2 separate regions of the Homo sapiens genome follow, and region 2 is linked to region 1. The links are contacts of gene promoters, found by promoter capture Hi-C in human tissues and cell types (Jung and others, 2019). All regions are on one chromosome and are shown on one strand. The core of a region is centred on a gene start or on the middle of the fragment in contact, and the rest is flanking DNA. Distances in the headings are between cores, read along the strand shown.

Region 1 (6,953 bases), core at 846-3,345:
ATGCCAATATGTGCAATTTTAAAGCCAACAGGGAACAACTTTATGATATTCTATAAATTATGTACAATTATATGAAACAATGGGGTAAGGCAGAGATGCTGAGAAGTTAACCAAAAGTGCAGACACAGACGATCTCATCTCCCTTCACCAAGAAATACTAATAGGCATTAAAAGAAATGGCCTTGCATGGTCACTTAGAACAAGGGACAGGGTCTGGAGTAGAAGTATGCTTGGACAGTATCACTCTCCCCTTCATTCTTTAAGTTAGGCCTAATAAGCATTTTCTAACATTTTGTATTTTTCACATCTGGATAAGACTAACAATGTTTTTGTGAAACACTGTATTTGTGAAAATATTTGACTTGATCTTTCCATAGTGATAAGTAGAATCTATGTCATTTTGATATTATTTTTTTACAAATGTTGGACATTGTGAGAAAGACCAGACAGATTTAAGGACCATCTCTTGTGAAAACATATCACAAGAACTAAAAATGCTCCAGGGACTTTTCTGGGGCTTATGGTCAGATGGTCCATGGTACAAGATACCAGGAGCCAACCAGAAGAAAAGAAAAGTCCCTGGATGTAATTTTCAAAGACATACTTGTCAACATTGTAGATCAGATTGGTGCCCTCCTTCCTAAATATTCCCTGATAATTCCTCTGGTTGGTTTCCTTTTTTAATGAAATAGAGTTTGTTATCATGAGGGAGTTTGAACAAAGAGGGGAGAAAGAATGAAGGAAGAAAAGAAGGAAGGGAGGGAGGAAGGAGGAAGAGCAAAAGGGAGAAAGAAAAGAAGTGAGGAAGGGAGGAGGTAACAGGAAGAAGTGACTTAATCTAAAAAACATTTATCAACATGTTCTCCTTTGCATTTGCACTTGGTTTGAGGCTTCATATTACCCAAGCCCATGATATTGTTGGATATCATGAAGCCAATCAAGTTCTCTAAGACTCTGCGAGACTATCTGACCTCTGTCCTTCAAACATTACACCAGCATACCAAGTGTCTTTGGCTACTAAGCAGAATCACAGCAGCAGTATCATTAAGCCTTTATATTTGTTTCTGTCATTCTTGAATATCCCACTAAAATCAAAATCCATTTCAAGAACAGAGAGTAATCAGACATACATTTTGTATCACTTTTTCATCCCTAAGCTCTTTTTTCACTCCCTCCCTGGATTCTCCTTTTTGCTCCACAATCTTCTTATGGCGATTTTCACCTCTGCATTCCTGAGTGTGTAAATGATGGGGTTCAGCATGGGGGTGATGACCGTGTAGAATACAGCCACAAGTTTATCTTCAGTGAAAGTGGAAGAAGGTCGCATGTAGAGGAAGATAGCAGGTCCAAAAAACAAGATGACCACTGTGATGTGAGAAGCACAGGTGGAGAGGGCTTTGTGCCTCCCCTCTGCAGAATGGTTCCTCAAGTTGACCAGAATGACAATATAAGAGGACACCAAGATGAGGAAGGAGAAGACAGAGAATAATCCACTGTTGGCCAACACAATAACCCCCTCCATGAAGGTGTCAGTGCAGGCAAGCTTGAATAAAGGCTGGAGGTCACAGAAATAGTGGTCAATCACATTGGGACCACAGAAGGGCAATTGGATGATAACGAGAATCTGAATTATGGAGTGACAAAAGCCCCCCAGCCAGGAACCAGCCACCAGAAGGTGACACAGTTGACGACTGATAATGTTCATATAATGAAGAGGCTTGCAAATGGCCACGTAGCAATCATAGGCCATCACCACAATCAAAAGGATCTCAGCAACCCCAAAGAAGTGGAAGAAGAATATCTGAGTCAGACAGCCTTCCAGAGAGATGGTTTTAATCTTGGCAAGTAAGTCTATGATGAATTTAGGGGCGATAGTGGAGGAATAACTGATCTCCACCAAGGACAGGCAGCTAAGGAAGAAGTACATGGGAGAATCCAGACTCTTGCTGATACTGACCGTCAGAACGATGAGGCCATTGCCCACCACCGTGGCAAGGTACACGGGGAGAAACACCACAAAGCATACACTCTGCACAGCTGGATCCTGGAAAAGGCCAGTGAAAATCAACTCAGTCACATTACTTGTACTGGCCATGGATTCCACTCAGAGAAGACAGATCTCAGAGAAGAGCCCTGTGACAAAGCACATGCAATCATAACGCTAATCCTTCATGTTTATTTAGCACTTGCTTGTTAATAAAACCCTTTTATGCATATTTTCTGACTCATTTGTTTATTTATTTATATAGTCAATGTTTATTCATTTGGTGCTCAATAGCCTACCCTATGCAAGACACTGGTCAAGCAGCCCCACAAAAACTCTATGATCCCCATATAACAAGTAAGAAAACTGAGGCTCAGAGAATTTGTGAATTAGCCAAGCCTCCCAGGTCATATTATTCCAACTCATACATTACTTTAAGTAAAAAAAATTACCGCTTTCAGCATGAAAACCATTTATATTAATTACTAACATTTCTCCTATTCTCCATTTTCTCTGGTCATGTCTTTGTGTTAGAGATTGTATAGTGACCTTCTGCTCCTGACTCTTTTGTTTCCTCCATTTATTTACTCCCCAGAAATGCCAATCTAAGTGAAACATCTCCATTTTAGGGAATATCTTTGATGTTTTCATTACATGAACTATGTAAGTTTCTGAATTCTTTCAGACCCTATGGTTTTTGCCCAGTCCTATAGCTTCATGAATTTTACAACCATTTTGAGAAAATGTTGGCAGCTGAGAGCTAAGTGAACATCCAGAAGTTGTTTGGAGAATAGCTCCCTATCAAACAATAGTTTGAATATAACATATGGACAACACCACTTTGCTTGTTTCTGTCTTCCAGTTTGCTTGCCATTAGCAAACATTTTTGTCAGCAGAAGGTGCAGGATTTCTTTTAAAATAACTCTTTAAACCAAAGATTTTATTAAGTACCTACCACAGGCCTAGGCAACTCAGGACATAGGAAAGGAGAATGGAACATGGTTCTAGCCTGAAGAGGCTTGTAACTTCAAATGATTAAACAACACATTTATGAAAAGAAGGAGAGAAAAACTTCAAGATTTTCTCTGCTTTCAAAACTATGTTGAAGTATCTCGGGCCGGGAGCAGTGGCTCAGGCCTGTAATCCCAGCACTTTAGGAGGCCGAGGTGGGTGGATCAACTGAGGTCAGGAGTTCAAGATCGGCCTGGCCAACATGGTGAAACCCCATCTCTACTAAAAATACAAAAATTAACCGGGCATGCTGGTGGGCACCTGTAATCCCACCTACTCAGGAGGCTGAGACAGGATAATCACTTGAACCCGGGAGGTGGAGGTTGCAGTGAGCCAAGATCTCACCATTGCACTCCAGCCTGGGTGACAAGAGCAAAACTCCGTCTCAAAAAATATTAAATAAAATAAAATTATTTTGAAGTATCTCTTATTCACCTTACTTTTCCTTCTTCCACTTGTGCTTCCATTTGAAAATATTCAATACTTTTTCCTCCCCAATTTCTCTCATAGTGAAAATTTGAAGAGAAACACAAGGTAAAAATCTGCTGAAAGATGCTCAGTAAGGAGCTTGGCTAAAACTGGAGATGAAGTGGAGTATTAATTGGTGAAGAAAAAAAAAAGAGGTACCCAAGAAAACAACTGAAAGGGAAAGAGAAAGCAAGATGGGACTCTCTTACCGGTGTAGAGGAATAGAAATAAGGGAAGCTTCAAAAACAACACAAGAAGGCTGCCAAGGGGTCTGGTGGCCTGGAGGAACTAGAGCATCTTGTTAGCTCATGTTTGCCATCATGTGGTTGTTAGGATGATGATGAAGATGGTGAACATGGTGGTTACCAGATGTTTACCATCTTCATTGTCATTGTCTTCCTAACAACCACAACAACTGCAGATGCTGCTGCTGTGTATTCCGGGTCTACTGTGTGCTAGACTGTGATAAGCATCTTACAGTCATCCCCTCATTTAATTCTTCCTGTACCTCTTTGAGGTAGCTAATTATTAGATGAGAGAAATGAGGCTTACAGAAGTTTAGTAACTTGTCCAAAGAAACATAGCTTGCGAGTGTTTGAGCCATAGCTGAAACCGAGCCTATGTAAATAAGGGTAGTGGAGAGCCACCACACCTCAGCTGGAGGAGAAAGGGGTTAGCCACCCCAGGGCCTTGGAGAAATAGCATCAAGACCTATGGTCAATACAAAACTTGGCCAAATTCATTTACTAATCCCACCCTGTGAATAGCAGGAGCATCATTAGAAACTCTACATTATTGGGAATGTTCCATTTCCACCATTTCTGGATCATGCAAGACCAAGAAACCATGTAGGATCCTGCGCAGAGTGTGAGACTCAGGGATTCCCCTCTCCTACTTTACCCAAAGGCAAGGATTTTGGTGGGAGGCAGAACTGCAGCTGGTGAGACCAAGCTATGGAATCTGTCATTCTCTTCCAGCGCAGGTGAGCTGAAGAAACCCCTCTCACACTGGGCCTTATAGCAGCACCATCATTTTCCCTGTCCCTCAGGATTGAAACCATGGAGTCACATCTAATTCATGCCTCCTCCACCTGTCATATTTACACAATCTTTATGTCCTGTTGATTTCACCAGTTTCCTCCTCTGTCTTCCTGCAGCTGCCATCTTCAAGTAGGACATAAACTCACATGAGGATGACTGCAGACACCTACATACTTCATCTGTCCCCAGACATCCCCAGTCTTCATCCCCAGTCTATTCTACATACTCACGTTAGAAATTCTTCCTCTTCCCTCAGTTCCAAGTCATTCAGAAATTGCCATTGTCTCCCTGTTGGCTGGTAATCCATCCTAAATTCTTCCATCTGACTTTTAGAAACCTCTACAGGACCTCCACAGGCCCCTTCGAACCCACTTTACGGGGCACTAAACCGCACACAATCTCAGTTCTATTCAGAGGTCTCCTCACCTTCTCATAAATACAAGTTGATCCCCAACACAGGTGAATCTTTCCTACTTTTCACATTACCTGATGTATCACCCCTTTTTGCTTCCCTCTCCAAGTGCCAGCTAGTCTACAAGGTCCGCTGTCTAGGAAGCTTTCTCTGGTTACTATTTATCTCTGCTCTCAACTCTGGAAATCAGTTTAAGTCATCCTTCTGCTAAATGCAAGAAGGCACACAGTATTCATTTCATAGCAAGCCCTCAAAGAATGTAAGTTATTATGATTGTTATACTTCTAAAATGCAAATCTGATCAAGTCATGCATTGACTTGAAATCTAGCAACGGTTTTCCACTGACTACGAGATTAAATCCAATACCATCAGCATGACATTAAGACTCTCCAGAACTGGAGCTTGTTCATCTTTCTATATTCAGTTGCCATCACTCTCAACTGGAGCTTGTACTCCAGCCATTCTGAATGATATATCATTCTAAAAAACTGTCTCTTTGCATAAACTAATCCCTCTGCTTGGTTGGTGCACATGCCTTGACTCTCTAACTTTTCTTCTTGTTTTAATACTCAGGTCAAACACCACCCATCGCTGCACTGCCAGGAAACACCTCTTGCCTGCTTTTGTTGTTGTTTTACTTTTTTGAGACAAGGTATCACTGTTTCAACCAGGCTGGAGTGCAGTGGCATGATCATAGCTCACTGTAATCTTGAACTCCTAGGCTTAAGGGATCCTTCTGCCTTGGCCTCCTCAGTAGCTAGGACTATAAGTGCATGCTACCAGGCCCAGGTAATTTTTTAATTTTTTTGTAGAGATGGCATCTCACAATGTTGCCCAGGCTGGCCTCAGACTCCTGGTTTCAAGTGATCCTCCCAATGCTCTAGGATTACAGGTGGGAGCCACCATGCCCAGCCTTCTTCCATGTTTTTTACATATTTCTACTGAAGTAGTTAGCATATTTTATTGTCATTTTTGTTTCTGTATCTGTCTTCTTTGCTGACTTTATTCATCTCTGAATCCTCCAAATAACTTCTCGGCAAATGTTCATTTAATTGAATTTTTAAATACATAAATGAAGTTATTCTACCACCTACAGTTGAAAGCACAAAATGCATCACACTTTATCTTTATACAGTCTCTTTTTTTCTCTCTCTCATTGTGGCATTACAGTCATCTGTTTGTCGTTAGAAAAAGAGTTGAAGTTTGTTACGCCTTGAACCCACACAGCACCTAAATGTCAGCCTCACAGATGGTACACAGTATATATGTAGACCCTTGGTTGATGATAAACTGATTAACCAGTAGATTGATAAGAAAAAAACTAGATTCTTTAATGCTATCTCTCTACATTTTCTTTTAAGTCTGTTGACCTCTTATAACCTACCTGAGACTCTTTCTCACCAAGTATATAAAATTATGAACAATGTAGATCATTTTTATTTCAGAAATAAGCATTTAACTGCACTGGGTCAAAGTCACACATGCTGCAATTTTGCAATTGAGATACTTTATCTACTTCTAGATTATCTTCTATGAGCTGAGTGGGGAGGACCCTAACATCATTATGTTTTCCAGAAGACATTTTTTGTCCTTTCTTTTGTCCAGTGTTACTTGGACATGAATTGCCCAGTTCTCACTTAAAGTGCTAAATCTCTTACACACACACACGCACACATCATAAGTCCTTATGCTGAGAAGGTTACCATAATGGGCCACATGATATATATTTTAAAAACAAACAAAAAAGCCTATTAGGGGAATTTAATACAATTATGTCAGATGGCTTAATGAAGTCATCGTGAGAGCACAGAGGTGATGAATCCAGAAGGGCAAGTGACCTGCCTTTTAGTGGAGGAAATAGTTCATGGTTCAGCGTCCTCTAAAGGACAGATGAAAACAAAGCAAGGACCCCTGGCTAAGCTGCCTTTCACTCTTCTCAGGAATTGGTCTAAAGCAGTGGTAAAGAGGGTGGGTGTTGAAATTGGGAGCCAACTCTTAGCTCTACCGCTCACCTATCATGTGCCCTTATTAACAGTT
Region 2 (7,160 bases), core at 3,605-6,104, 500 kb before region 1:
ACAAAAAGACCTTTTCCAAACTGCTCAATCAAAAGAAATGTTCAGATCCATGAGATGAATGCACACATCACAAAGAAGTTTCTGAGAAAACTTCTATCTAGTTTTCATGTGAAGATATTTCCTTTTTCACCAGAGGCCTCAAAGCACTCACAAATATCCCTTTGCAGATTCTACAAGAACAGATTTCCCAATCTCCTCCATGAATAGAAACATTTACCTCTGTGAGATGAATGCACACATCACAAAGCAGTTTTTCAGAAACCTTGTGTCTACGTTTTATGTGAAGATATTTCCATTTTCACTGTAGGCCTCAAAGGGCTCACAAATATCACTTTGCAGATTCTACAAAAAGACTGATTCCAAACTGCTCAATCAAAGGACTGGATCAACTCTGTGAGATGAGTGCATACATCATGAAGAAGATTCTCAGAAACCTTCCATATAGTTTTTGTTCAGATATATACTTTTTCAACCTAGGCCTCAAAGCACTCACAAATATCTCTTTGCAGATTCTACAAGAACAGAGTTTCCAATCTGATCAATGCAAAGAAACATTTGCCTCTGTGAGGTGAATGCCCACATCACAAAGCAGTTTCTCAGAAAGCTCCTTGATAGTTTTATGTGAAGATATTTCCTTTATTACCATAGGCCTCAAGGGTTGCACAAATATCCCTTTTCAGATACCACAAAAAGAATGTTTCCAAACTGCTCAATCAAAAGTATGGTTCAACCCTGTGGGATGAATGCACACATCACAAAGAAGTTTCTCAGAAGTTTTTGTCTGGTTTTTATGAGAAGATTATTCCTTTTTCATCATAGGCCTCAAAGCACTCACAAATATCCCTTTGCAGATTCTAGAATTACAGTGTTTCCAAACTGCTCAATGAAAGGAAACGTTTCCTTCTCTGACATGAATGGACACAACACAAAGCAGTTTCTCAGTAAGCTTCTTTCTAGTTTTTATGTGAACATATTTCCTTTTCCACAATAGGACTCAAATCACTCACAAATATCCCTTTGAAGATTCTACAAGAACAGAGTTTCCATACTGCTCAATGAAAAGAAATGTTTACCTCTGTGAGATGATTGCACACTTCACTAAGCAGTTTGATATAAAACTTCTTTATTGTTTTTATATGAAGGCATTTCCTTTCTCACCATGGGCCTCAAAGCACTCAAAAATACCCCATTGCAGATTCTTCAAAAAGACTGTTTCCATACTGCTCAATCAAAAATATTGTCCAACTCTGTGAGATGAATGCACACATCACAAAAAAGTTTCTCAGAAAGCTTCTGTCTAGTTTATATGTGAAGATATTTCCTTTTTCACAAAAGGCCTCAAAGAACTTATGAATATCCCTTTGCAGATTCTACAGAAAGACTGTTTCCAAGCTGCTCAATCAAAAGAATGTTTCAAGTCTGTGACATGAATGCACACATCACAAAGAATTTTCTCAGAAAGCTTCTGTCTTCTTTTTATGTGAAAATACTTCCTTTTTCACCATAGGCCTCAAAGCACTCTAAAATATACTTTCATAGATTATAGAAGAACAGAGTTTCCAAACTGCTGAATGAAAAGAAACGTTTACTTCATTGAGGTGAATGGACACATCACAAGGCAGTTTTTCAGAAAGCTTCTTTCTGGTTTTTATGTGAAGATGTTTCCATTTTCACCATAGGCCTCAAAGCGTTCCACAAATATCCTTTTGCAGATTCTACAAAAAGACTGTTTCCAAACTGCTCAATCAAAAGCATTGTTCATCACTGTGAGTTGAATGCACACATCACAAAGAAGTTTCTCAGAAATCTTCTGTATAGTATTTATGTGAAGATAAATCCTTTTTCACCATGCGACTCAAAGTGCTCACAAATATCCCTTTGCAGGTTCTGCAAGAAGACTGTTTCCAAACTGTTCTATCAAACGAAGAATTCAACTCTGTGAGTTGAATGCACACATCAAAAAGCAGTTTCTCAGAAAGCTTCTTTCTCGGATTGATGTGAAGATACTTCCATTTTCTCCATAGGCCACTAAGCGTCCAAAAATATCCCTTTGCAGATCCTACAAAAAGACTGTTTTCAAACTGCTGAATCAGAAGAATGGTTCAACTCTGTGAGATGAATGCCCTCATCACCAAGTAGTTTCTCAGAAACCTTCTTTCTAGTTTTTATGTGAAGACATTTTATTTTTCACCATAGGCCTCAAAGTGCTTACAAATATACCTTTGCAGGTTCTACAAAAACAGTGTTTCCAAACTGTTCAATTAAAAGAATGTTTCAACTCTCTGTGATGAATGCACACATTACAAAGTAGTTTCTCAGACAGCTTCTGCCTAGTTTTTACATGAAGATATTTCCTTTTTCACCATGGGCCTCCAAGTGCTCACAAATATTTGTTTGCAGGTTCTACAAGAACAGAGTTCCCAAACTGCACAATCAAAAGAATGGTTCAACACTGTCAGATGAATGCACAGACCACAAAGCAGTTTTGAGAAAGCTTCTGTCTAGTTTTTATGTGGAGATAATACCTTTTTCACCATAAGCCTCAAAGGGCTCACAAATATCCCCTAGGACATTCTACAAAAAGACTGTTTCCAAACTGCTCAATCAAAAGAAAGGTTCAAATCTGTGAGATGAATGCACACATCACAAAGCAGTTTCTCAGAAAGAATCTGTCTAGTTTTTATGTGAAGATATTTCCATTTTCTCCATAGGCCTCAAAGCGTTTACAAATATCCCTTTGCAGATACTACAAAAAGATTGTTTCCAAACTGCTCAATCAAAATAATGGTTCAAATCTGTGAAATTAAGGCACACATTAGAAAGCAGTTTTTCAGAAACATTCTGTCTAGTTTTTATGTGAAGATATTTCATTTTTCACCATAGGCCTCAAAGCGATCACAAATATCCCTTTGCAGATTCTACAAAAAGAATGTTTCCACACTGCTCAATCAAAATAATCATTCCACTCTGTGACATGAAGGCACACATTACAAAGCAGTTTCTCAGAAAACTTCTGGCTAGTTTTTATGTGGAGATATTTCCTTTTTCAGCATAAGCCTCAAATGACTCAAAAATATCCCTTTGCAGATTCTACAAAAAGACGCCTTCCAAAGTGCTCAATTGAAAGAATGTTTCAACACTGTGAGATGAATGCATACATCACAAAGAACTTTCTCAGAAAGCTTCTGTGTAATTTTTATGTGAAGATATTTCCTTTTTCACCATAGGCATCAAAGCGCTCACAAATATCTCTTTGCAGATACTGGAAGAACAGAGTTTCCAAAGTGCTTAATGAAAAGAAACATTTAACTCTGTTAGATGAATGCACACATCACAAACCAGTCTCTCAGAAAGCTTCTGCCTGGTTTTTATGTGAAGATATTTCCTTTTTCACCATAGGCATTAAAGCACTCAGAAATATCCCTTTGCACATTCTACAAGAACAGATTTTCCAAACTGCTCAATGAAAAAAAAGTATATCTCTGTGAGATGAATGCAAACACGCAAAGCAGTATCTCAGCAACCTTCTTTCTAGTTTTTATGTGAAGATATTTCCTTTTTCACCATAGGACTCAAAGTGCTCACAAATATGCCTTTGCAGATTCTACCAAAAGATGGTTTCCAAATTGCTCAATCAAAGTGATTGTTCAACTCTGTGACATGAATGCACACATCACAAAGTTTCTCAGAAAGCTTCTGTCTAGATTTTATGTGAAGATATTTCCTCTTTCACCATAGACCTCAAAGTGCTCACAAATATCCCTTTGCAGATCCTAGAGGAACATAGTTTCCAAACTGCTCACTGAAAACTAATGTTTACCTCTGTGAGATGAATGGACACATCATGAAGCAGTTTCTCAGAAAGCTTCTTTCTACTTTTAATGTGAAGATACTTACTTTTTCACCTTAGGCCTCCAAGCACTCCCCAATATCTCTTAGCAGACTCTACAAAAAGACTGTTTAGGAACTGCTCAATCAAAAGAACGGTTCAAGCCTGTGAGAAGAACACACACATCACAAAGAAGTTTCTCAGAAACCTTGTGTCTAGTTTTTCTATGAGGATCTATCCTTAATCACTGTAGGCCTAAAAGTGCTCACAAAAATTGCTTTGAAACTTGTGGTGAAAAAGGAAACATCTTCACATAAAAACTAGAAGGAAGCTTTCTGAGAAACTGCTTTGTGGTGTGTCCATTCATGGCACAGAAGTAAACACATGATTTCATGAGCACTTTGGAAACTTTGTCCTCCTAAAACCTGTAAAGGGATATTGGGAAGCACTTTGAGGTCTATGGTGAAAACGGAAATATCTTCACATAAAAACTAGATAAAAGCTTTCTGAGAAATTGTTTTGTGATGTGTCCATTCATCTCATAGAAGTAAACGTTACTTTTCATTGAGCAGTTTGGAAACTCTGTCCTTCTAGAAGCTGCAAATGGATATTTGTGAGTGCTTTGAGACCAAAGGTGAAAAAGGAAATAACTTCACATAAAAACTAGACAGACTTTCTGAGAAACTTCTTTGTGATGTGTGCATTCATTTCACAGAGTTGAATGATTCTCTTGATTTAGCAGTTTAGAAAGAGTCTTTTTGTAGAATCTGCAAAGGGATATTTGTGAGTGCTTTGAGGTTTACAGTGAAAAGGGAAATATCTTCACATAAAAACTAGACAGAAGCTTTCTGAGAAACTTCTTTGTGATATGTGCATTCATCTCACAGTGCTGAACCATTCTTTTGAATGAGCAGATTGTAAACAGTCTTTTTGTAGAATCTGCAAAGTGATAACTGGGAGCACTTTAAGGCCTATGGTGAAAAAGGAAATATCTTCACATAAAAAGTAGACAGAAGCTTTCTGAGAAACTTCTTTGTGTTGTGTGCTTTCATCTGACAGAGTAGAACTTTCTTTTGATTGAGAAGTTTGGAAACAGTCGTTTTGTGAAATCTGCAAAGGGATATTTGGGAATGCTTTGAGGCCTATGGTGGAAAAGGAAATATCTTCACATAAAAACTAGACAGAAGCATTCTGAGAAACTTCTTTGTGATGTGTGCATTCATCTCACAGAGTTGAACCTTTCTTTTGATTGAGCAGTTTTGCAACACTCTTTCTGTGAAATCTGCAAAGGGGTATTTGGGAATGCTTTGAGGCCTATGGTGAAAAGGGAAAGTCTTCACTTAAAAAATGGAAATAACCTTTCTGAGAAACTGATTTATGATGTGTGCATTCATCTCACAGTGGTAAATTTCTTTTCATTGAGTAGTTTGGAAACTCTGTTCTTGTAGAATCTACAAACGTTTGTTTGTGAGTCCTTTGAGGCCTATGGTGAAAAAGGAAATATCTTCACATAAAAACTAGACAGAAGGTTTCTGAGAAACGTCTTTGTGATATATACATTCATCTCACAGAGTTGAACCACTCTTTTGATTGAGCAATTTTGATACAGTCTTTTTGTAGAATCTACAAAGGGATATTTGGGAGTGCTCAGTGGTCTATGGTGAAAAAGGAAATATCTTCACATAGAAACTAGATAGAGGCTTGATGAGAAACTTCTTTATGATGTTTGCATTCATCTCACAGCGTCAAACCATCCTTTTCATTGAGCAGTTTAGAAACAGTTTTTTTTTAGAAACTGCAAAAGGAGGCTTGCTTGTGAGGGCTTTGTGTCCTATGGTGAAAATGGAAATATCTTCCCATAAAGACTCCAAAGAAGCTTTCTGAGAAAGTGCTCTGTCATTTGTGCATTCATCTCACAGAGGTAAAAGTTTCTTCTCATTCAACACTTTGGAAACTCTGTTCTTCTAGAATCTTCAAAGGGATATTAGTGAGTGCTTTGAGGCCTATGTTGAAAAAGGAAATATCTAGACAATCTTTCTGAGAAACTTCTTTGTGATGTGTGCATTCATCTCAAAGAGCTGAAAAATTTTTTTGATTGAGCAGTTTGGAAAATGCCTTTTTGTGGAATTTGCAAATGTATATTTGTGAGCATTTTGAGGCCTAAGGTGTAAAAGGAAATATCTTCACATAAAAATTAGATGGAAGTTTTCTGAGAAACTTGTTTGTGATGTGTGCATTCATGTCATAGAGTTCAACCATTCTTTTGATTGAGCAGTTTGGAAACAGTGTTTTGTTAGAATCTGCAGAGGGATATTTTGTAGGGCTTTGAGGCCTATGGTGAAAAAGGAAATATCTTCAAATAAAAACTAGAAAGAAGCTTTCTGAGAATCTGATTTGTGATGTGTGCATTCATCTCACAGATGTAAACATTTCTTTTCATTGAGCAGTTTGGATATTCTGTCCTTGTACAATCTGCAAAGGGATATTTGTGAGGGCTCTGAAGCTTATGGTGAAAAAGAAATATCTTCAGCTAAAATCTAAACAAAACTTTCTGAAAACATCTTTGTGATGTGTGCATTCATCTCATAAAGTTGAACCATTCTTTTTATTGAGACTTTTGGCAAGTATTTTTATAGAATCTGCAAAGGGATATTTGGGGGCTCTATGAGGCCTATGGTGAAAACTGAACTATCTTCACATAAAAACTAGACAGAAGCTTTCTGAGAAACTGCTTTGTGATGGGTGCATTCATCTCACAGAGGTAAGCGTTTCTTTTTATTGAGTAGTTTGGAAACTCTGTTCTTGGAGATTCTGCAAAGGGACGTTTGTGAGTGTTTCTAGGCTGATGGTGATAAAGGAAATATCTTCACATAAAAAAAGATTTCTGGGAAACTCCTTTGTGAGTTTTGCATTCGTCTCACAGAGGTAAATGTTTCTTATCATTGAGCAGTTTGGAAACTCTGTTCTTCTAGAATCTGCAAAGGGATATTGTGAGCACTTTGAGGTCATTGGTGAAGAAGTAAATATCTTTACATAAAAACTAGACAAAAGCTTTCTCAGAAACCTCTATATAATGTGTGCATTCATCTCACAGAGGTGAAAAATTCTTTTGATTGAGCAGTTTGGAAACAGTCTTTTTGTGGGATCTGCAAAAGGATATTATGAGCGCTTTGATGCCTATGCTGAAAAAGGAAATATCTTCACACAAAAAGTAGGCAGAAGATTTCTGAGAAACTTCTTTGTGATGTGTGCATTCATCTCACAGAGTTGAACCATTCTTTTGATTGAGCAGTTTGGAAACAGTCTTTTTGTGGGATCTGCAAAGGGATAT

Evidence for each region. The method cuts DNA at HindIII sites, captures the fragments that hold promoters and counts their contacts. A contact is called where the count stands out against the background at its distance.
Region 2: a contact is called between a fragment that was not itself captured here and the fragment with the promoter of OR4B1 in region 1, in 4 of the 25 tissues and cell types used here (H1 embryonic stem cells, aorta, bladder and 1 more).

The regions. Positions count from the first base shown.
Region 1 is chr11:48,211,952-48,218,904 of GRCh38, reverse strand. OR4B1 (olfactory receptor family 4 subfamily B member 1) reads right to left here and starts at 2,095. Exons shown (of 1, transcript NM_001005470.1): 1 at 1,166-2,095. The coding sequence starts at 2,095. The coding sequence ends at 1,166. The HindIII fragment of the contact is 4,187 bases long and covers 194-4,380 here.
Region 2 is chr11:48,714,454-48,721,613 of GRCh38, reverse strand. No RefSeq gene overlaps it. Among named protein-coding and RNA genes, the nearest start is that of OR4A47, 230 kb to the right of the region's middle. The HindIII fragment of the contact is 3,171 bases long and covers 3,269-6,439 here.